Linked DNA regions of Homo sapiens: all the other regions are linked to region 3. Evidence: promoter capture Hi-C in 16 types of primary human blood cells and fetal thymus (Javierre and others, 2016). All regions are on one chromosome and are shown on one strand. The core of a region is centred on a gene start or on the middle of the fragment in contact, and the rest is flanking DNA. Distances in the headings are between cores, read along the strand shown. Region 1 has its middle 6.3 kb from the start of NFE2L2. Region 2 overlaps LOC100130691 (Putative uncharacterized protein FLJ44553). Region 3 holds the start of IFT70A (intraflagellar transport 70A). Region 4 has its middle 7.1 kb from the start of MIR4444-1. Region 5 overlaps LOC100130691 (Putative uncharacterized protein FLJ44553). Region 6 overlaps LOC105373760 (a long non-coding RNA gene). Region 7 overlaps LOC100130691 (Putative uncharacterized protein FLJ44553).

Evidence for each region. Contacts are between HindIII fragments. The CHiCAGO score rates a contact against its expected background, and 5 or more counts as called.
Region 1: a contact is called between a fragment that was not itself captured here and the fragment with the promoter of IFT70A in region 3, in 1 of 17 cell types (neutrophils). The highest score is 5.1, in neutrophils.
Region 2: a contact is called between a fragment that was not itself captured here and the fragment with the promoter of IFT70A in region 3, in 1 of 17 cell types (neutrophils). The highest score is 5.3, in neutrophils.
Region 4: a fragment that was not itself captured here is called in contact with the fragment with the promoter of IFT70A in region 3 in 1 of 17 cell types (monocytes); the score reaches 6.6 in monocytes.
Region 5: a fragment that was not itself captured here is called in contact with the fragment with the promoter of IFT70A in region 3 in 2 of 17 cell types (total B cells and fetal thymus); the score reaches 6.9 in total B cells.
Region 6: a contact is called between a fragment that was not itself captured here and the fragment with the promoter of IFT70A in region 3, in 1 of 17 cell types (neutrophils). The highest score is 5.7, in neutrophils.
Region 7: a fragment that was not itself captured here is called in contact with the fragment with the promoter of IFT70A in region 3 in 1 of 17 cell types (neutrophils); the score reaches 6.2 in neutrophils.

Annotation. Positions count from the first base shown.
Region 1 is chr2:177,269,305-177,272,664 of GRCh38, forward strand. No RefSeq gene overlaps it. Among named protein-coding and RNA genes, the nearest start is that of NFE2L2, 6.3 kb to the left of the region's middle. The HindIII fragment of the contact is 3,167 bases long and covers 496-3,360 here.
Region 2 is chr2:177,297,446-177,300,698 of GRCh38, forward strand. The region is part of intron 8 of LOC100130691 (Putative uncharacterized protein FLJ44553); the gene reads right to left. Among named protein-coding and RNA genes, the nearest start is that of MIR6512, 15 kb to the right of the region's middle. The HindIII fragment of the contact is 5,312 bases long and covers 1-3,253 here.
Region 3 is chr2:177,616,708-177,619,995 of GRCh38, forward strand. It overlaps IFT70A (intraflagellar transport 70A), which reads right to left and starts at 2,035. Exons shown (of 1, transcript NM_152275.4): 1 at 1-2,035. The coding sequence starts at 1,994. It overlaps IFT70A-AS1 (IFT70A antisense RNA 1), which reads left to right. Exons shown (of 3, transcript NR_198966.1): 2 at 594-813; 3 at 1,581-2,531. RefSeq lists an enhancer at 2,108-2,337. The HindIII fragment of the contact is 8,599 bases long and covers 859-3,288 here.
Region 4 is chr2:177,204,025-177,207,259 of GRCh38, forward strand. No RefSeq gene overlaps it. Among named protein-coding and RNA genes, the nearest start is that of MIR4444-1, 7.1 kb to the right of the region's middle. RefSeq lists an enhancer at 165-1,127. The HindIII fragment of the contact is 6,068 bases long and covers 1-3,235 here.
Region 5 is chr2:177,332,547-177,335,732 of GRCh38, forward strand. LOC100130691 (Putative uncharacterized protein FLJ44553) reads right to left here. Exons shown (of 9, transcript NR_026966.1): 3 at 1,847-1,983. Among named protein-coding and RNA genes, the nearest start is that of MIR6512, 20 kb to the left of the region's middle. The HindIII fragment of the contact is 458 bases long and covers 1,092-1,549 here.
Region 6 is chr2:177,139,874-177,143,263 of GRCh38, forward strand. All of the region lies in intron 1 of LOC105373760 (a long non-coding RNA gene), which reads right to left. Among named protein-coding and RNA genes, the nearest start is that of MIR4444-1, 71 kb to the right of the region's middle. The HindIII fragment of the contact is 2,510 bases long and covers 784-3,293 here.
Region 7 is chr2:177,355,054-177,358,421 of GRCh38, forward strand. The region is part of intron 1 of LOC100130691 (Putative uncharacterized protein FLJ44553); the gene reads right to left. Among named protein-coding and RNA genes, the nearest start is that of AGPS, 36 kb to the right of the region's middle. The HindIII fragment of the contact is 2,050 bases long and covers 738-2,787 here.

The sequences.
Region 1 (3,360 bases), core at 829-3,328, 350 kb before region 3:
TTTTGACTAGATGGAGACTGATGACTTTTTTTTCTCATTTTTCCATGTTTACATTGTTCTAAATAAATAAACATACTTTTTTTTTTTTGAGACAGGGTCTCGCTCTGTTACCCAGGCTGGAATGCAGTGGTGCTATCATGGCTTATTGCAGCCTAGACCTCCTGGGATCAAGTAATCTTCCCACTTCAGCCTCCTGAGTAGCTGGGATGACAAGCATGCACCACCATGCCCTGCTAATTTTAAAATTTTTTGTAGAGGGGGTAGTCTCACTATGTTGCCCAGGCTGGTCTCAAACTCCTGGCCTCAAGCAGTCCTCCTGCCTCAGCCTCCCCAAGTGCTGGGATTACAGGCATGAGCCATTGTGACTGGCCAGCATACATTACTTTTATAAGAAGAAGAAAAAAGGTGGGAGTAGGGTGTGGGAGTAAGGAAAGAACGTTGCTTTTCTCCCATGCCACTGGATCTGTTTTATTTTCAAATTGAATTATAACCACAAGCTTTGTAAATCTTTCCATTTTGTATTTATTTGAGTGGAGCCTGGAGAATTTTACCACATCTTTAAGTGTAGTTGTTGTAAGGTTCTAAAGATCCTTTCTCTTCCAATTTACTGCTATATTTGCAACGTTTAACTCAGCAGAACAGGAATTACCAAAGACAAAATTTTATGAATAGAGATTAAGAACTGCAGCCTCTCAGTAACAGGCAAAGTAGCCCAAACGTAACATCGCTTTGTGGGGAAAATAAAATACAGAAAAACATTATGCCTAGAGCTATGTCTTCAAGGACAGTTCTCAAATATTAATAATGGGAGTAGAATATCAGATAATTTTCATTTCCATCTTTGTATTTTTCTGTATTATTCAAATCCTTACAGAAAGCATTTTTAGAATTAAGGGATAAAAACAATTAAACTATTTCCACTTTGAACAAACAAAAAGCAGACTACAACGAATGGAAGAGCAGAGCATCCTCATAAACAGACCTTACAGATAATCTATAACATTCTTGGAGGCTGGAAAATAAAAAAGGGAAATGAGATTTGCCAACATAATTGTCTCCTGACACTTTCTATTCCATGGACTCTCATTTTGCCCTTTGAGTAATATTAGAATTAAAAAAAAACCTTAGACGTCTTCTGGCCCGGAGATGGGAAGCAAATTTCACTTTGATTGCCAATTCTGATACATTGGTAGTGGCTGCCTACAGTGCTTTGCTGAAAAGTATTCAAAAACAGCTTCCCAATTTGGTAGAAAAAGTTCAATGATTGATTAACAATGTCTGCCATGGGCACAGAATTATGAGTGGTGGCACATATCAGGTATGTTTCTTCCTTGATATAGTCCAAATTCCTACTTTTACATTTGAGGAAACTGAAGAGTGAAGTGGTTACTAATGACCACAGAGGTAACTACTGGCAGAACCAGAAATAGAATAACATTTCCTGACTCATGGTATTATGTTCTTCGCATACAACAAATTGATTTGGAATTTTTTTTTTTGATACAGAGTCTCACTCTGTTGCCCAGGCTGGAGTGCAGTGGCATGATCTCGGTTCACTGCAACCTCCACCTCCCAGGTTCAAGCGACACTCGTGCCTCAGCCCCCCAGTAGCTGGGATTACAGGCATGAACCACCATGCCAGTTAATTTTTGTATTTTTTAGTAGAGACGGGGTTTCACCATGTTGGCCAGGCTGGTCTCGAACTCCTGACCTCAGGTGATCCACCTGCCTCAGCCTCCCAAAGTGTTGGGATTACAGTCGTGAGCCATGGCGCCCGGCTGACTTGGACTTTTAAAGGCAAATCTAGTACTGGGCCAGACTTAAAGGATAAGGTGTAAATTTTATTGACATGTTGGCACATTATTTTTGGAGGGGATTAATAATCCAGTTTATTAATGATAATAATTATTGTACATATTTTATAAACACTCCCCACAAATCAGGGAGATGCAATTAGGCCCAATATTACAAAAATCAGAGGTGACAAAACAATTAAGTGACTGCCTCAAAGCTCAAGGAAATGATTATCTGACAATGGCCCAGGCTTCGTCTACTCTAGGTCAGGTCTCTGTAGAGTCTCTTGGCTTGTGCTGTATTTACTGAGAGTACTCACAGCAAAACTCCCTAAAGATTACATTTTTCCACATTCTGTTTAATGAATTCCCCAAGGACAAAATGATGAAGTATTTTTCACTAGAGAGAAAACTTGCAAACAAATAGGAGAACAGGATTTCTGCATTTAAGAACTTCAGTGTGAAGGGTAGGGAGAAAGTAAATGAGCTGTTTGCAACTTTAGCCTCTCTACGTACCAGCAGGTTTTTAATTTTTCTTATTTAATGAAAAGGTCTAAGAGCAAGAATCAAAATGTACTGAGAAGACTATAAGGTGTTAAAACCCTTTTGCTTCTTCCAATAAATTAAATTTCTCTAATTGTGTGATTCTAAAAAGCCTAATATGCAGGTAACTTTAATGTCAGTTTAGAGCTATCCCTCCTGTAAGATTCAGGTAACTTGTTCATCACGTTTTCTTTCTCCTGATGAAAGATGGAATATTTCAGTCTTTGGAGTTCGTAAACTTTCAAAAATTTGTAACGGTCAGTGTATTAATTCACTTGTCTTTTTCCCTGCTAACAGTTCTTGTATGCTTACTATGCATAATAACCCGAATTTTTAGATTCTTTATTTCTCTACAATATATTAGGGATATGGAAAGCAATAACAACACAACAAAAACAACAAGTATTTATTGAGTGCTAAATATGGCCCATGTACTTTATATGGGTTATATCATTTAATCCTCTCAGAAAATCCAAGACAGGTCCTTTACAGTCCCATTTTAGAAATGAGCAAACTGAGGCCTGGAGAGGTGAGATAATTTTATCTATGGTCAGGTGGTTAGTAAGTAGCTGAACAAATCACTGACTTTAAAGTTCTTAAGCATGAAGATATGCTGCCTCCCATGCATAGTTCAAAAAATCGTAAAGGTTCATTAGGGAATTTAGGTAGAAATGTTTTCTGAAATGTTTCACCAAAAACTATCCAAGCAATTTATGTTTCATTTAAAAAACAACAGTTGAATACTTAGTGAGAGAGTTTGAAGGAAGACTCAGTTGAGTTAAACATGGATTCTACTCTGAAGGTCCTTACAGTCCAGTAAAAAAACATCACACTTGCCCATAGCCAGGAAGTAGCTGATGATGCAAAAGAGGCAGGCAGTTAATGTAGCCAACCTGATAGCTGAGGTCAGGGGTTTCTCTTTTCATTTTCTGCAAAATTCACATAATATTTTAAAAATAGCTTTAATGAGGTCTAATTGATATAAAATAAATTACATATATATAAAGTACACAATTTGATAAGT
Region 2 (3,253 bases), core at 348-2,847, 320 kb before region 3:
TCAGGAGGAAGGAATGCTACATAAAGAGACCCAGAAGAACCTAAACAGAAAGGCAGGCCTTGCTGGGTTTCCTCCTCAGTCTATTACAGTAAGATCATACTCTCTTGTCCAGTCACATTTCTACATGGCTGTCCATTCTTCATCGAGCCTCAGCATAAAAACACAGTTTTCCTTGCATCTTTGGGTATTCATTTCTTTTTTTTGGGGGAGGGGGGCTATTCATTTCTAAAGGCTCCCATTTCATGTAAAACTTTGGTTAAATAAATTTGTTATGCTTTTCTCTTGTTAATCTGTCTTTTGTTATAGGAGTGTCAACTGTAACGCTTATGATGGATGAAGAAAGGTACTACACCTTTCTGCTCCTATAGCAGGAAAAAGTCTGTTTTGCTCACGACTTACTCTAGGCCTAGTACACCACAGTTCCTGGCACTCAGTAGGCAATTGATAGAATAGTTGAATTAAGTTGGGTCTCATGGTTAGATATATGTGGCTTATAGAATATTTTATTTTATTTTATTTTATTTTATTTTATTTTTTGAGACAGTCTCATTCTGTCGCCCAGGCTGGAGTGCAGTGGCGCTATCTTGGCTCACTGCAACCTCTGCCTCCTGGGTTCGAGCGATTCTCCTGCCTCAGCCTCCCTAGTAGCTGGGACTACAGGCGTGTGCCACCATGCCCAGCTAATTTTTTGTATTTTTAGCAGAGAGAGGGTTTCACCGTGTTAGCCAGGATGGTCTTGATCTCCTGACTTCGTGATCCACCTGACTCAGCCTCCCAAAGTGCTGGGATTACAGTCGTGAGCCACCACGCCCGGCTGTCAAAATATTTTAAATCAATACTGGCAAAACAGATCAGAAAATATGTGTAAACACGGGAAGTAGGGCTAGAATTGGGTCCTAGAAAATTCCTCAAGGGATTTATAACCTAATACAGATGAAGCCATCAGTGCAGGGAGGCATCTTGCAGCCTTAAATTTGGTTAGAACTTGAGATTTTTGTGGTTTGCTGTGCCAACCCACACTTTTTCCTTAGGCAAGTACTGGGTTTTTGCTCAAAGTCCAAAAGCAAAGGAAGAGAAAAAGGCAGATGGTGGGTAGTTGCAAAACTATAAACATGTTTTACTCCTGGAAATCTTACGGACAGGAGTAATTCTGGGAGTATGAAAGTAGCTTAGAAAGATTTTTGCTTCCTCTCACCCTCCAACCTAATTATGTGCTGCAAAGTATTCCTATAATACTTGGCAATATAAGGCTGGGCATAGTGCCTCACACTTGTAATCCCAGCACTTTGGAAGGCTGGGCAGGTGGATCACTTGAGGTCAGGAGTTCTAGACCATGGCCAACATGGTGAAACCCCATCTCTACTAAAATACAAAAATTAGCCAGGCGTGGTGGTACACACCTGTAGTCCCGCTACTCAGGAGGTTGAGGCAGGAGAATCACTTGAAACCGGAGGCAAAGGTTACAGTGAGCTGAGATTGTGCCACTGCACTCCAGCCTGGGCGACAGAGCGAGACTCTGTCTCAAAAACAAAACAACAACAACAACCACCACAACAACAACTTGGCAATATGTATCAAGAGTCTTAAAAATGGTCATATCTTTTGATCCAATACTTTTCCTTCTAAGAAAATATGTTAAGGAAATAACCAGAAATGTGAACAGAGGATTTTTAGAACAAAGGGGAAAAAAACCTTTGTACTCAATATGAAAAGTTGTTTTCTAAAAATTTTACTTAAGTAATTTTGCTCTAGATATAAGACAATTCTTATGTAATATTTAAAAATATGGCACAAAATTGTGTATATATAGATTACTCCTGAATAGAAGGATTACAGGTTGTTTTGATTTTACTCTATTGTAAGTAAAAATGTTAAAACCTTTGAAATGTAGTGGGTATCCTAATTAGTGCATCCATTCATTTCTACTTTCATTGTCTTTGACTAGTCTTTGATTAGACTATTTATAACTCTGTAGAGAAAGAGGTGAAGATGTAGAAAATTGACATTAATGCAAATGTTTCCTGTTATAACTGGAAATGATCCCTGTTCATGTCAATGCAAATAAATTTTGTCTGGCAGGTAATATAGATCTCTGTAAATCAAATCCATTTGAACCAGCTATAACACCTTACTGGTTTTCTCATTAATTAATGAGTTAAATAAAATCTTTGATGTGCTCATTTTATATTTATATATGACAGTCATAATGTTTCCTTATTTTGAAAACTGTTTTTTAACACTATATAGTTTCTATTTTCTAGATTTCCTATCATAAGGATGTACAGGTAATTTAGTAAACTTTTTAAGGATAACATGCATGCAGAAAAGTAGGTAAGTTTACAGTTCAATGAATTTTCACAAAATCAACACCTATGTAACCTATGTGAGTATGATCAAGGAAAAGAACAATATTACCACCCAAAAGTAGCTCTTGTGCCTTCCTCTTGGTCACTACTATCTCCACCATCCCAACAGGTAAACACCATCCTGACTTCCAACATCACTGATTTATTTTGTCTGATTTTCAATTTTATATAAATGGAATCATATAATGTGTTCTCATTTGTGCCTGGCTTACTTTGCTCACCATTATGTTTGTGAGATTCATACATGTGATTGCACAAAGTTTTAGTTCCTTCATTCTCCTTGTTATGTAGTGTCCGTTATATGAATAGGTCACAGGTGATCCACTCGCCTCAGCCTCCTAAGGTACTAGGATTACAGGCGTGAGCTACCATGCCTGGCCTGATTTTAATTTAAAAAAAAAATTTTTTGAAGACTTGTTTTGTGGCCTAACATATGGTCTATCCTCAAGAATGATCCATGTGCTGAGGAGAAGAATGTGTATTCTATAGCTGTTGGACGAAATGTTCTGTAAATATCTATTAGGTCTATTTGGTCTATAGTGCAGATTAAGTTGGATGTTTGTTGATTTTCTGTCTGGATGATCTGTCCAATGCTGAAAGTGTGGTGTTGGAGTCCCCAGTTATTATTGTATTGGGGTCTATCTCTCTCCTGAGCTCTAATAACATTTGCTTTTTTTATCTGGGTACTCCAGTGTTGAGTGCATATACAATTGTTATACCCTCTTGCTGAGTTGACCTCTTTATCATTATATAATAATCTTGTCTCTTTTTATATTTTTCTCTTGAAATCTATTTTATCTGATAGAAATATAGCAACTCCTACTCTTTTTTGGTTTTCATTTGTGTGGAATATCTTTTTCCATCCCTTTATTTTAGGCCTATGTGTG
Region 3 (3,288 bases), core at 785-3,284:
TTATTCCATCCTATAATCTCATAAATCAAAGCTTTCAATTGTCTGGACTCATCTGTGACTGTATTCTTCCCAACATGCATTCTTTCTTCTTCGAGGGGTTGTTCAATAACAGCAGGTATGTTTGTGCCATAAAGTTCACAGTGTCCTAAAAACTGGACACATTCTTGAATAACACTGTCATGAATGACTATCATGTGTTTTGACATGTTTTCTAACAAGGACAGGAAGCATCTTTTGGCATAATACCAGGTATCTGTTCCCAGCTTTTTATTATAAGGCTCCAAGCTTTTGATAACTCGAGAAATACCAAACTCATAGTTTCCTTTGGCACAATAAAGAGTTCCTATCACCAAATTCACAATGCAGAGATGGTACATTTTCCGATTTGGGTCATCATAAGAGAGCTGCTCTTCCTCCTTTTCAATCTTCCTCATCAACTCCTCTGCTTCTTCATTTTGACTTGTCATAATATAGGAAACACAGAGATTAGCCAGTACAATAGCACTGACATTCAGGATGTTATCATAATGCTTCTTGACTATGGGTTCATAGAAACCAATGGCTTCTTTGTATTTGTTTTCCTGCATGAACAGAACATGAGCCACATTCAACTTCCACACATCATGGTCGTTACAGAATTCCACAGATTTGCGGAAGACCTTTTCCACCATTGGATAATTTTCAAGATTCCAGTAGATTTTTGCCTGAGCCATCAACACAGGAATGTATTTCTCCATGGTTTCATCATATTCATTCACTGCCTTTTTGATAGCTTCATCATCTCTGTTGTGTCTTGCTTCCTGTACTTGCTTGGTGAGTCTCCGAAGCTGCTCAGTCAGCATCCCTGCTAGCCCATCAAGCTTAATGAAAGCCTCTTCAGGAGCTGTCTGGCAAGTGATCAGGGCATCTAAGAAGTCATAGAGATAGGGTGTGAGGAACTTATACGTCAAATGGGCATTTTCTGCCAGGACATCTGCTGCCAGGTCAAAATACTCATATTTACAGTAGAGCAGCAACAGGTTGCCAAAAGTCTCTGGAGGAAAGGGATTCTGTTGGAGCAAAAACTGTAGCTTTTCAAACCCTTCTGTAGGCCTGGCATCCATGTTCATTAGTGCCTGGTTGTGCAGGGTCACAGGGTCCAACTCTTCCTCTGCCCTGGGTGGCATGTCGGTGAGGGTTTCTTGAGCTACCTCATAGTTTCTCAGTTGGTATTCTATGGCTGCCTTAAGGTTGAAGGCTTCCACCAGAGCAGTCTGATGGAGAACTAAGGTGTTGCCAACACTGCGAACATCAAAGCCCTCGGTGGTCATGCCCACACCTAGCTCAGGATGCTGGCGGATGCCACGCTCAATAATCTCAGCGATATGCTTCAGTGCTGAGGCATACTGTCGGCTGCTGTAATAGGCCAAAGCCAGGTTGTAGGAAAGGTCAGGCTGGTAGCCCGAGGCCTGCAGTGTGGCAGAAAACTTGGAGCATGCAGCTTCATACTGTCCCTCCTTGTAGAGCAAACAACCCAGGTTGACCTGGCCATCGGTCTCATTGTCGCCTCCACTTTCTTCTCCCCCTTCCCCACTCAGCAGCTGCTCCACCAGGCTCCTGGACCCTGGCAGATCGCCCTCGCTATACTTGATGGCAGCTTGCAGGCGGAGGACCCGGCTGTGGTAGGCGGGGTTATCCAGGAGAAGGAAGGCGACCCGAGTGGCCTCCGGATAAAGGCAGGCCTTGTACAGGGCCTGGGCCTGGTACAGGCGGTACTGCTCCAGTTCCGGGTGCAGCTGGCCCAGCTGCTCATAGCACTCGGCCGCCAGCGCGAACTCCTGCAGGCGGTAGTAGCAGTAGCCTAGCAGCGACAGGCCGGCACGGCTCCTGGGGCTCCGCTGCAGTTCTCGGCCCAGCAGCTGCACCGCCTCGGCGTAGCGGGCATCGCGGATGAGCCGGTACACTAGCGCGGTAAACTCCCCGTCGGGGATCTGCGCGCCGCTCAGACCAGCCATAACCACCACGGCTGTTATGCGTGCGGTTACCACGGCAACAGGGCAACCGGGCAACCGGAAACGGAAGACGACGGGTTACTTTGCCACGGAAGGAATCTGTTAGGAATAAAAAGGGACCGTTCTCGTTAGTCTCTCAAGTTCGGTTTGATCTTCAAATATTCTGGACTGCAGCGTGGCGGCAGTCAGAAGGGGAAAGACGACTACTCCGGGCCGTTCAGAGACTGAATCTTCCCGGTCCCGGCATGCATCGTTCCTGTGGCGCCGCTGCGCAGGCGTGGCCGCACTGCATGCTGGGAGGCGTAGTCCCTGTTGCACCGACCCGACTCGCGGCCCGTGTGGACGCACGGTCACTCGCCTTCCCTGCCCCCTAAAGATGAGGGGCACTCTCTGTGTCTGTTGTGCCACCTCGGTCTCTAGCGAATCGGAGGAAGATTTCCGGCACCATGTTCTGGCGATTTTGAGCCTTGTGCATTGGTGTGGTCTATACTAATGCTGGCGTTTGGCTTACTTTTAATAAAGTAGAGATCGTCAGTACAATAAAAGGACCTTTTAATAAAAGGAGCGGGATGGCAAAAGGGAGTTAACTCCTTGAATTCCCTTGGAATTAGAGCAGGTTCTTATGCTACCCCGAGGGCACAGTTTGTAAGAACAGAATACAGCAGCAAACAGAAATCCTTCTTATTTTGGTGGTTTCCAGAGGTTAATAAGGAAAAAGTGCTGTGAATCTTAATTGGTACTGGGAGAGGATCTGTTTTTGATCGCAGTATCTCTCCTTTTCCATGACAAAAAAAAAATTACTGAGTATATGTTGGCGTTTACACTTGGTTGTATCCATTGCTGTGGTCCTCCAACTGTCTCTGCCAATAAGAAATCAGTATCTTTTGTCATCTCCCATGATATCCATTGGTCTCTCTAGCACCTAATATAAACCTAATCCAAGTAAAAGTGTGTTGTTTGCTACATAATTACTGCAAATCCTTTGTATGCATCCATAATAGTGTTACTGCCCATAAATCTTTTCTGTATATAAACTTCACAGCTATCATACGGTTGATAACGATGTCAACCATATCATATAGCACCTCTATTAGAGACTGTTTACATATAGTATTTCTAATTTGAATAAGCAGCCTGCATTCTGCATATTGTAGTTTAAGAAGTCTGTGGGCTAGAAAGGTTTAAAGATTTAAGTATTACATTAATTAAATCAAACTATTAAATTAATAGTTTGTTTAAAGCCACATCTAGGTAGGTAGGGGCTGAACCATGATATCCAATAACCAATTTCAATAGG
Region 4 (3,235 bases), core at 326-2,825, 410 kb before region 3:
TGCTTCAGCCTCCCAAGTAGCTGGGACTACAGGTGTGTGCCATCACACCCAGCTAATTTTTGTATTTTTAGTAAAGACAGGGTTTCACTATGTTGGCCAGGCTGGTCTCAAACTCCTGACCTCAAGTGATCCTCTCGCCTCGGCCTCCCAAAGTGCTGCGATTACAGGTATGAGCCACTGCGCCCAGCCCAGAGTGTTATTTAAATTTCGCACATTAAATATCTCTTGAGCATTACTAGACTCACAACAATATGAAAGCATTAGTCCTTGCTTCCACAAGAAAGGAGATTTCCTAACTGTCGCTCAGGTAATTTAATCTCTACATTCTACCTTGTTTACAGCCATATAGCTGTAAGATTGCAGCCTGGGCCAGAGATCTGTACAGCAGAATTGGAAGGAGCTATCATGGTGTGACTTGCTGAAAGAGTTTCTGTCCAAAATCAAATTCTTCCACTGACTTGCTTCACTGACTCTTATTCCCACCATTTGAAAATGTTTGCTTTGGGTTAAGGTATTATTGTCACAAGAAATTTTCTTAAGACATAGATCTCCCAGGGAGAGCTAAGATTCTGGGATTCATTTGTTAATGTGAACTCAGCAGGACACAAACGAACAAGGCACAGAACAGCTCAGTTTCTGTGTGTGGAGGGTCCCGTGGATCTGTTTTCTTGCTCACATCTCAGTCAGAAGTCTCATGTCACTACATACTAACATATTTTCCTCATTTAATATCCGATATTGCTACTGATGAGTATTTCCCTTTAATGAATTACATTTGGGTTACAGTTATCTTCACCATTCCTACACAGATAAGCAGGCCTTAATTTACAAATGAGCCAAACATTCATACAGTAATTTTGGTCTCTCACTGCCAATTAATTACAGAAAACAATGGAGCTTTTTTGTAAATCTGGGGCTTAAATGTGAAGGAAGAAAAGACTCCCAGGTCGAGATGTGCCTACGATGGCTGACTCCAAGGACAATCTTGCTGGCAGTGATAGCCTACCTATTTAGAGGCCACTCTGTCCCTTTCCTCATCCCCAAATCTCTTCCAAATGTTGCCTAAATTCCACCATATAGAGTTTGTTTTGATTAATAAAATTCATATGCACCTGACAGAGAACTCAAAAGGACATAGAGGCCAAATTTGGGGCAATTTAAATATCAAAAGGAATAATGACTGCAATTGATTATAAAACAGTGAATAAATAAAAACCCATGAATCTATAGTGATACTCAAAGAGAGAGAGAGAAAAAAGATAATTTGCCACCTTTGAAGGTGACTGTTATACTAACTTCTTATTCTGAAAATTGGTAATTAAAGTACCTACCCTGTCTTTTAAGGAGGAATTGTAGTTCATTCCCAGTTGGTGAAGAGACATTTTGTGTGTGTGTGTGTGTGTGTGTGTGTGTGTGTGTGTGTGTGTTTACAAATGCTAGCTAATAAATGTAGAAGAAATGATATAATTAGAAAAGTCATCATTCTGTCATCCCCAATGAAATAATAATTCAGTCAAGGGTGATCAAAAATGCTAACACATAATGGGAAAGGTTGTTTTGGGGTCCAATATTTGCATGGGACCAAAGTACCACCTCAGAGATGACCTTCTCATTACAAAGGAGGGTTTTACCACTTTGATGAAATTTAACATCACAAATAGCGGGACAATCTGATATTGTGTGCCGCGTAATGTGACACAACAATCTAAACTACACATCATCACCTCTGATATACTCTTGCTCAACCTGATTAATTTGAAGTTAATAAGAGTTTGGATTTAACCTTCCAATTTATAGGAAATGAAGGAGACAGAGAATCTAGTTAAATCGCACCTGCAGAAAACAATCAAATAAACCCAAAATGTAAAGCATCCTACAAATTCATTTGTCCTGATCTCTTCAAAAGGTCAATTTTATGGGGAAAAAAGTGGAGGTGTGACACCTTTCCTTACCCATTGTAAGGGTCATGGCCAACACTCTTATAACAGAAGACAAGTTAGTAAGAGAAAAGTGTAACTAATTAATTTAATCAAAGTTTTATGTGAAAGTCATTTGTAAAGCACCTACTAAAAAGATTTCAGCCTTTTCAGACTTCCAAATTGGGATTTGTCTGAAAGAGAACGTAAGTCCCTGTGAATGACTCCTTAATACTTTTTGTATCAAATTACCTCCTCAATCTCTAAATCATTCAACTGTGGTGTGTGTGTGTGTGTGTGTGTGTGTGTGTGTGTGTGTGTGTGTGTGTTGGGAGAAGGAAGTGATATATCTTGTCATCTTAACAAATACACTAATCAGGCCTAACCTCTTCTTTAGCTTCCTAGGAGGCATGTACAAATCCCCTGAGAGTTCTCACGCACTTACACCACCTCATACTTTTCCCAGGGAAAGTGGCCACTCGTAGGAGAACAATGGGTGCATTTCACAAAGTTTCTCAGGAAGTTCTATACCTCAGTGTGACAAAACCTTATGGAAACAAGAGGAGAGAGAAAACGAAAAAGGGAAGGATCCAGAAGGAAGCAGTGATGAACTAAAGGGAAAAACCAATGTCCTTAATAAAGACAAAAAAGGAAAACATCAAAAAGAAGCAACAGGGCCGGGTGTGGTGGCTCACACCTGTAATTCCTGCACTTTGGCAGGCTGAGGCAGGTGGATCACCTGAGGTCAGGAGTTTTGAGACTAGCCTGGCCAACATGATGAAATCTTGTCTCTACTAAAAATACAAAAAATTAGCTGGGCATGGTGGCGTGTGCCTGTAATCCCAGCTACTCAGGAGGCTGAGGCAGGAGAATCACTTGAACCTGGGAGGCGGAGGTTGCAGTGAGCCGAGATCGCGCCACTGCAATCCAGCCTGGGCAACGAGAGCAAAACTCCAACTCAAAAAATAACAAATAAAAATATATAAAAATTAGCCAGGTGTGGTGGTACATGCCTGTAATCCCAGCTACTTGGGATGCCAAGGCAGAAGAATCGCTTGAATCCAGTAGGCAGAGGTTGCAGTGAGCCAAGATCGTGCCACTGCACTCCAGCGTGGGCAACAGAGCAAGACTCTGTCTCAAAAAAAAAAAAAAAAAAAAAGGATGAACAGGCAGTAATGTTGATCCCTAGGTCAGGAAGGATTAACATTTAAGAATAGGGATATTAATTTGACAGATAATCATTTGTGACCTTGGAAAAACAATTTCGATAGCCTGTGGCAGAAACTAGGAACACTTAAGAAATGAGTGGCAGCCTGTGA
Region 5 (3,186 bases), core at 71-2,570, 280 kb before region 3:
AAACACGCAAAAATAAAGTCCCAAGATGGAGTTCAGGGAAAGTGGATACTGTGTATTTATTTGTAGAAAACTGGAAGAAACATCATGAGATTTGGGACTATAAATTTATGTTTTTCTCTTCTCTCTCTCTGTCCCTCCAAGATCCAAAACAGGACTTGGATATCTGTTTCTCAGTTTTTGTGAGGACATTCCAGGCATTGCTGGGAAGCCATTTCCTGGATTCGAACTGACTCCTTACATACCTAAAATTCAATTGTATAAACTTTCTGGGACCTCTAAATTGTCAGAAAGTGGTCTCACTTTTCTACAGTTGAAACATTGCTGGAAATGCTCACATTCCCAGTTCTGTAGGATTTGGAAATAAAATGGCAGCTTTTTGTGTGTGAATTAACAAGAGAAAGAAGTCCTTTCAACACAGTGGAGCAGTTTCCTGAAGTCTGTGCCTTCCACAGAATCTACCAGATCTGCGGGATGTTTATAGGTGAAACGTTGGTCAAATGAATTTGGGGATTGCAAGGTAAAACAATGTTAAGCAGTTTTTATAGGCTTTAATTTACCAGTGTCCACTGCCAGCTTGCAAGAGAGGAAAATGCTGGGCAAGCTTTCCCAAACTTGTTTGACCTTGAAACCCTGGGCTTTTCATAGACCTGGTGTTGTGTGGCGCTTACATTCGGAGCTATTACAACAGGGAAAGGACATTAGCCTGCTGCATGCACACTACGCAGAAACACCAGTCCTCCCTGACCCCATCCTATTCCTTCTCTCTGTGTCTCAATATTTTTGAAGTTTTGTTTTGGTTTGAGTAGAGACTGGGGAATTTAACTACTTTTTTTCTCTAGCAGGATTGTAACAGGAGTAGGATCTGTTTGATACTTGCTACTCCCAGGTAAAACAAAGTAAGTTTACCTACAACATATGCCAAATTTTCTCTCTCAGCTTACATGTCAAACAGCACATAGTAAGATAGTCTTTTTACTCAGAACACATTTAGTGTGCTCTAATTCTGTGTAAGGTACCACTGGGAGGGGAGAACAGAGAGAAATAAAATATGATCCTTGACTTAGTCAAATCATTAAATAGATGGAGTGATAAGCTTATACACAGATTACTACAAGATCCCTTATACAGATAAATAATGGTCATACTAGATTTAGTCATCATAACTGAAATAATAGGGTTTAGTTTATGTGGAGCAAGGCCATGGAAACTATCCATGGAAAAAGAAACTAATAGCCTTACAGAAACTCTGTTATAGTGGCATCCATTGTTAGAGCATTTCACCTTATTTAAAAAAAAAAAGAAAAAGTCAATGGCAAAGAATATCTGTCTGTATTAATTCTGGAAAGTGACATTCTTGATGAAACTAAGTGAACAATATTAATAATGCTTCTCTTTAGATAATTTTTCTGCATTTTAGGAGATGGACCATATAATTCATAGTTTTGACTCAAAAAGTAATGTCTCTATTTAGGTATTAATAAGGATATGATCCCTTACAAGGGATACATATTATTTCCACTTCATGAAAACAACAGGGGCTCAGAGAATAAGCTTGTTTAATAGCTTGTAAAGGGCAGGCTTGGAATTCAAATCCAGTTCTGTCTGGCCCCAAATTGTTATTTTTGTTTCCCTTTTTGTGGGGCAGAGTAATTTTAGAAAATGTTTGCGTACTTTCTGATTTCTATAGCCTAAAAATATGATGCCAAAGAAAAATGAGGAAAACAGCTTTCCTGAGCTTTAGAGAATTACACATACACAAATAGGAGACTATAAGCTTTGTGAGAGCAGAAACCTCAAGGCCATATCTGTTCTCTTTGCCACACTAAGCACAGAGCTTAGCACATACCTGGCATATAGATCCTCATTAAAGATTTGCTCAATGAGGCACATATGAATGATAGTGTTTGAGATTAGGTGGTAGGCACTCATGAAAACTTTCAATATCTTCTTGTATTTTTTGCAAGATAGTCCACAGTTTTGAATCTGCAAAGGAGAAATAAGATTAAGGTTAATGCAGGCCATTTGAAAGTATGCCTTACCTCCTCATGAAATGGTCTGAATCTGATCAAGGGCAATTTTCACATTTGTGATTGTACTTTCCAGTTAAAACTCAATAATTAATTAATCATATTGTGAGTCAATTTGTGGATGATTGAGAACCTTCCCCTGCATAGTTGTTTGGTCATTCCCCAACAAATTCATTCCCTGAAAATGGCTAAAAAAATTAGGCTTGAAGTAAAACTAGATTTGAAGGCAACGACTAAATCTTCTTTATATCTGTATTCCTAGAACACATTCCTAGAATATATTGTGCTTTATAATAAGAGCACAATATATTTTGAACTAGGAAGGAAGAAAAAAGAAAGGGTAGCAAAAAGGAAGAAAAATGAGAGTTAGGAATCTTGGATTTAAGCCTTGGGTTGACAATGTGAATTTGGGCCAGTCATTTCTTCATTTTGTTTCTCAGTTTCCCTTTTTGGAAGCCAGAGGAGTTGACCTAGTTGACCACTAACACACCTCCAGATTCTAATTGCCTGTGGAAGAGAGACTGGGGTCATTCTTGGTATAAACATGCCCATGCTTCCTTTTTTCCACTAGGGGGCACTGTAGTACTAGCGCAGTGGCCTCCATCTTCCAATTTATTCAATTCTGTTGACAGTATTTTTCCTGTTTTAGTCCCCTGGAAAACATTCTTTACCTTTAACTTTCAAACTCAAATTTACACTACAAAGTATGAGATTTAATTTGGTAAGGAAAGCTGGATAAACATAGGAAGAATGTAGTTCAATGATTTATATTGCTTAAAAGAGAAATTAGAATCACAGAGCTATTTGCATAGTTAGGTTATAACACGTTAAGATTTTCTGTGGTCCAAAAGGGGGGCTTTGAAACTCTTTTAAAGGAAAACAAAGTGGAAAAAATTGTAATTACCAGAATAACAAAAACATAAACTTAATAAGTATGTCAAATCTATGTGAAGACAACTATAAAATTGCCAAGGCTTAAACAGAGATATACCATGTTCTTGGATAAGAACACTCGGCATTTAAAAATTTTTTAATTATTCCCCAAATATATTCATAAATATAATACAATTCCAATGGAAATGCCAATGGAATTTTTTTTGAAACTTTACAAAAGAGTTCTGAAGTTCCTTGAGAAAAGTTAAACTGAAAAGAGTCAAGA
Region 6 (3,390 bases), core at 789-3,288, 480 kb before region 3:
TGTAGTGCATCTGAAAAATTTCATTCAAAATGATTAATATTAAAGAACTATTTCCAGCTGTGTGGCACATTAGCTTCGTGGTATATTTCATAGCTTGGTGATTTCAGGTAAGTGACAAATTGCTTTATATCCTTTCTGTACCTGGGTAAACTGAGGTACAAAGTGAAATCAGAGACAGAACTAAAAGCAAAACATGAAGTTCCAAGATTTCAGTTCCCGTTACTAAAATTCATGTATTCATTTATTCAATAAATATTTATTATGCAGCTAAAATGTAAGAAACATAAGGATAAATCATGTATAGATCCTACTCTCAGAGACTGCAATTACTAAGATAATAAGGAATCTACCTAAATTTAAAAAGAGATAATGCTATAAGAGAGGTATGAGTGAAGGAGAGGTTTCTTTTTACTCATGGAGTTAGAGAAGTATTATTGAACAACAAAAAGAACACAGTTGTGATTCAATACTGAAAAGTTGAATTTCTATGGTTATATGATGTGCATTATCTTAGAAAAATGAACTCTATGTAGTACTGAGTGAAAAAGGTGGGTTGATGCAAAACAGTATGTATGTTTATTATACACATTTTACACACACACATCCACATACACCAACGTGCATGTGTAAACCAAACTGCTAACAATGCTAGTCTCTAGTTAGGGGAATTACAGGTGGTTTTTATCATTTTGCTATCTATCATGTCCAATTTTATTACAATGAAGCTTAATGGTGTATTACAAATCAATAAAAGGGGAATACTTGTCCATGGTGACCAAATAAAGCTTGCATCATGCCATGATCAGTGCTGCACTATGCAGAAGCTAATGCTGACATGTGATAGACGATGACCAGGATGCATGACTTGCCCACTTCTTTTCTGATAGCCCCAGCTCTGATTTGTTTCCATTTGACAACACTGAATGAGTGGTACAAAATTATTGTCCCTACCTTTGTGTAATATTCAGAGAACTGAGTAGATGCCTAGAGATTCAAAAAAGGACCAAAATAACCAGAACTCTTGAGAGCGTACCTAATTACACAATCATTAATAATCAATATAGCTTCACAAAGAACTTGTCCTATGTAGATAATAGACAGTCATCCTATTACATAGCAGAGTGGAAGGCCTGATGGATCACAGAAAATTAACTGATGAACCCTAAGCTGGACTTTAGGAAGGCTTTTGATTCTCTCCTACAAGGCATGCTAGGAAAATAGACCAGGAACAGACAACTGTTGATTCATTAACTATAGATTGGCTGGGGAGTTCTAACTAAAGCATTCAAATTGAGGAGACGACAAATGGTGTTTTTGATATCAACCCGAATAACAGACAGAAGAGGCCAAAAAATGAAATTTAGAAGGTAAAATAACAATTTAAGATAAAATTGTACAAATAAGAAACAAAATGTAGATTAAACGTAGTATGGAAAAATGTGTTCAAAGTACACACCTGAATTACAGGAGCTAATTAGAAATTGTTTGCATAGAAATATGACTGTCAGTAGGCATTGCTGTAGCAGTTTAAAATACTGTTTTGACAATGAATACCGAATTAGGACTGACAGACAAATGCATGTTGTCTACACCCATGTTAGCACTTAACATGTTGTATTGCCATTACTTGTTGGCAAATCTTTCTCTCCCTCAAGGTTTTTGTTAAATCTTACTGTATTCCCAGCACCTAGCAGAGTCTGGCAGAGAGAGGATTTTTCAATACATCCTCAGGAATAAATGAGATCATCTCCCATCTTCCTCAGATACCTTAATAAAGCACTAAACTCCCCTCAGAGTGCTATATTTAAAGATGGATATGAATAATTTGCTGAGCATTCAGAGGAGAACTTAAAAAGGTGGGGAGTTGATAAATGAGAATTGGATTTTTCCGTTTATAGAAGAGAAAGCTGGGGGGTAAATTAGTTACAATTTTCTTTTTGAAGAAATCTTACGCAAAAGACATCTTTTTCTATTAAAAATGTCCAAAAGTGTCTGGGTTAGAAGCCCAGATTAGGGAAATGGACCATTAAATATTGGAATGGATAACAACAGAAAAAAAAAAAAAACCTCAACTAAAATATATTTTACTAAATGCTTTCACAAAAGAGCTAGCTCCTGAGCTCCAATGAAGACTCACGTATAAGCCGCTGTGAATTAAGAAGCTGGCCTTTCAACCAAGCCCCTTACGTAAGAGCCAAGACTCCACAATTTCATGATAAATGAGTAACCAGCCATCATCAGAGAGTTTGCACAATTAAACTGACAATTCAAAACTCAATTTTATTTTCATGATATTTATGTTCAAGTTATCATAGAAGTCTGTATCAACAGAATATAAAATATACTATTGATGTATAGAAATTAGATTTCTGGAAAATCCCATACTTATTTCTTCATGTATATTTGCATAGATTTCTATTTTTTTATTAGCTGGTTATTTCTTAATTGAGAGTGTTCTAAATAAAACCTGATATTAAATACAATATAATTATTTCAGTTCCAAAATACATCCAGTATACCCAGTAAATATGGCTTTAGTAAGAAATTGTGAGAAAAGAATCCCACTCTAATTGATTCTCACCTATGTATCAAATATTATTTTGTTCTATTCTTCAATCATTATTTTTTCTTTTTTTTTTAGCTGGGCAGCTCCCTAAACCAGAATAGGTTCAGAGCAACTCCTGGTCATCATTTTTTATTTGCAATATAAAAACTGTTATATATTATATTAATTATAATTTATAATTATAAATTATAATATAATATATTAACTGTTCTAATAACCCATTTGTCACTATAAATAGCCTTTGAGTTTTTCTTCCATTCCAAAAAGGAGTAAAAGGTCCCCCAAACCAATTGATTTAACACCAAATTTAAATAAACCCAAAGACCCTCTCACTTTTCACATTGAGTAGAACAAGGTCAGACTGGGCATCTTCCAAATGTAAAGGCTTAATTGGACTAATTCTTTCATGATAATAATGTATATTTAAGATAGCCACTAAAAATTGTCAATGCTAATTTAGTAGATCAATTCCATTAAATGCTTTGAACTTTTCACCACTTGCTAATCTCATCTATTACAGCTGCTGTTTTTGTTGAAAATCTAAGCTATAACTTAATATCAAATTACAACATTTCTAGGCAGACCTAAAAAATACTTTCTTATATGTGAAATATAACCTAAAAAGACTGTAAGTTGTGTAAATTGTAAGATTCTAGCCATAAAATTTCCTGCAGTCAAAATGCAGAAAGATCTTATCAATCTATTGGCAATTGACATTATGGTAAGAAGCTTATGGGTTTTTTTTTAACATCTTAGAAATAAATGTTTTATTGTATCTAAAATAAAGCTTTAACATTTGTGATTATTGATTGTAGACCCACCTT
Region 7 (3,368 bases), core at 513-3,012, 260 kb before region 3:
ATGTGGCTAGCCAATTATCACAGCACCATTTGTTGAAAAGGGTGTCCTTTCCCCACTTTATGTTTTTCTTTGCTCTGTCAAAGATCAGTTGCCCGTAAGTATTTGAGTTTATTTCTGGGTTCTGTATTGTGTTCCATTGGTCTATGAAAAAAATTTTTTTTTGATATATTGTCTTACTCTGTCAGGCTGGAGTGCAGTGGTGCAATCTTGGCTCACTGCAGCCCTGACCTGTCAGGCGCAGGTGATCCTCCCACCTCAGCCTCCTGAGTAGCTGGGACCACAGGCATGTGCCATGAAGGCTGGCTAATTTTTTTTTTTTTTTTTTTTTTGTAGAGACAGGGTTTCATCATGTTGCCCAGGCTGGTCTCAAACTGCTGTACTCAAGCGATCCATCCATCTCGGTCTCCCAAAGTGCTGGGATTACAGGTGTTAGCCACCATGTCCAGCCCATAACTTTTAATGATTCTATTGTCTCCACATAGCAATGAAGGTAGGTATGAGGAGGCTGGCCAGGGATCTTCTGCATATCTGCTCTTGCAAATGGTGGCCTCTGCAGCTAGTGGAGCTCACCAGGATTTGGGCTAGGAGTAATAGTTAACCAAGGCCCTGGAAATCACAACCATTCCAAAAGGGGCATGGACAATGGTTGGACTCCCTTAGTGTTTCAAACGGGGCAGAAATTAAGGGTCAATGGTAACATCTCATCATAAACTTCTTTATTTGAAACACTGATGGGAAGCTTTCTTTCATCTTTTCTGCTTTTTCTTTCCTTTTCTTTCTTTTTTTTTTTCTTAATAGAAACATATCAGAAAAGTCAGCAAGCATAATCCCAAGGAAGGATTTCTGACAAAGAGCCTTTAGATAAAAACATATTTATCAAAAAACAAATTTTTCAGTCAAGGGCCTTTAGACACTGTATCATTTTCTTTCCTTATAACAGATATTCAGACTACTTCTTGGAAGGGCCCCAAATGCCTTGCCTAAGAACAATGGACAAAAGTCGCAGTCTCCTAATTCCATTAGTCAGAAAACATTGTGGTTTCAGAAGTTTTTGCTTATAGGGCATTTTGTAGCGGTATCCTAGACAGGGGTTGACATGGAAACCTGTGTTTCTCCAATAGGGTTTCCATGGCAATTCTATAGATTTTCTCATTTGTTAATAGCAATAGCCTTGGTCTTGATAACTAATATAATAGACCTGAGATTAAAAAGGTGAATCACTCTACTTGGATGGGGTTCCCTTGTCAGGGTCAGAATAATATATTTGGCAACCAACCAGCCTCTGCACAGAATCATCTAGAACTGTGTTAACTAATATGATGTCCATTATCCACATATAGCTATTTAGATTTAAATTAATTAAAGCTAATAAAAATTAAAAATTCAGTTTCTGACTTTCAAGTGCCATTTTTCTAGTGCACATGGGGCTAGTGGTTACCCACTAGACAGCACAGTTATAGGACATTTCTATCATCATAGAAGTTCTGCTGGACAGCATTGATGTAGAAGAATCATTTATCTGTAAATGTATCACTCATTCAATTAGTAATTCATTTAAATTGAGATACCTTCCTTAAATTTTTTCAGTCTCACTATAAACCAGAAACAAAGCAAGGCCGGACATGGTTAATACCTGTAATCGCAGCACTTTGGGAGGCCAAGGCAGGCGGATCACTTGAGCTCAGGAGTTTGAGACCAGCCTGGGCAACATGGTGAAACACCATCACTACAAAAAATATAAAAATTAGCTGGGCATGGTGGCATATGTCTGTGGTCCTAACTACTCAGGCAGGATTGCTTGAGCTCAGGAGGCAGAGGTTGCAGAGAGCTGGTAACAGGCCACTGTGCTCTGGGCTCCAGCCTGGGCATCAGTGCAAGACCCTGTCGAAGGAAAAAAAAGAAAAGAAAAGAAAAGAGAGAAGAGAAAGCAAACAATCCCAGCACCCAATCCTTAAAAGGATTCTTGGCTATTACATTTCATTCAGGGCTTGTAGTAACTGGGGGTAGTGTTTTTGTAACTTGTTAAAAACTATGTTCAAATGTAGCTCCAAGTAGAGGGAGGAAGAGGTCCTTATTAGTGGTGTTTGGGGAAAGGCCCATATTAAAGACATAATCCTCATTGTTCCAGAATTTGAAAATACTCTTGGACAAAGGTTCCCCATATCTCGTATGAATTTAGGGAACCTAAGAAAGTCCTCTGTCTTACTCCCTAAATACATCTTCTCCACCTACTCATCGTGAAACATAAAATTCTCACATATAAGTGGGAGCTAAGTAGTGTGTGTACACATGAACTTAGAGTGTGGAATAGACAATGGAGACTCAGAAGGGTGGGAGGGGAGGGGAAGAAGGATGAGAAATTACGTAATGGGTACATTGTAACATTATTCCAGTGAGGGTTCCACTAAAAGTCCAGACCTCCCCAGGAGGTAGTGTATCCATGTTAGCAAAACTTCACTTGTACCCCTTAAATTTATACAAATAATTTTAAAATAATTTTATATAAATGGAAAACAATTCCCTCAATAGGGAGAAAAAACTTTTATTAGAAAATTAGATATAAAACTTTAACATAAATATCCTTGGGAGAAACACTTAGATATTTAGAAACACTTATGTATTTACTAAGCTGTAAATATCTACCACTTACCAATAGGTTTTCACAGACGGAAGAGAAAGTTCAAAGTTGCTGACTTTCTGGATTGAAATAGAACTGATTGGGGAGAGAAGGATCAAAAGGAGAAAGATTTGCAGTAAGGGTAGATTTTTACTGCCCAACTTTGCCAAAGCTTAGCCTTTGGTATTTAGGGACTATAAAGTGACAATTGGATTGACAGAACAACCATCTCTGGTTTCCATTTGCTTTGAAATTGGGGTCCCCCCAGACCCTGAACAAATTCACTAATTACTCTCAGCATGAGAATGATCAACACTGGTCTAGGCATTTGACTTTTGGTGACAATAAATTACAGAATTTCAGAGTCTGAGGAACTTTGGTAGCATTTTGTCCACTTCATTAGGCCAAGAATTTGAAAATTATCTTCTTCTAAACTTCAGGGTCTATTTCAGGGATATCATAAAATTTTACCTAAATTTTCATTTCTAAATTGCAAAACCTACTAGATTAGATTAGAAGCTTCCTGCCCATCATCCTTAGTCTCCAGCAAAGGGCAAAATACCTTATAATGTTTGTGCATCTGCTGAGCTGCAGTCTCCTATTTTAGAGATAAAGAAAATGAATCCTAGAAAAGGAAAATGTTTTTCCCAAGGTCATGGAGTGAAGTAACAGTAAGACAGTACTAGGACCAAGTCTTCTGTGTGTTCTTTCCACAGCACTGTGCTGATTTCTCACAACTGTTTTCTTTCTT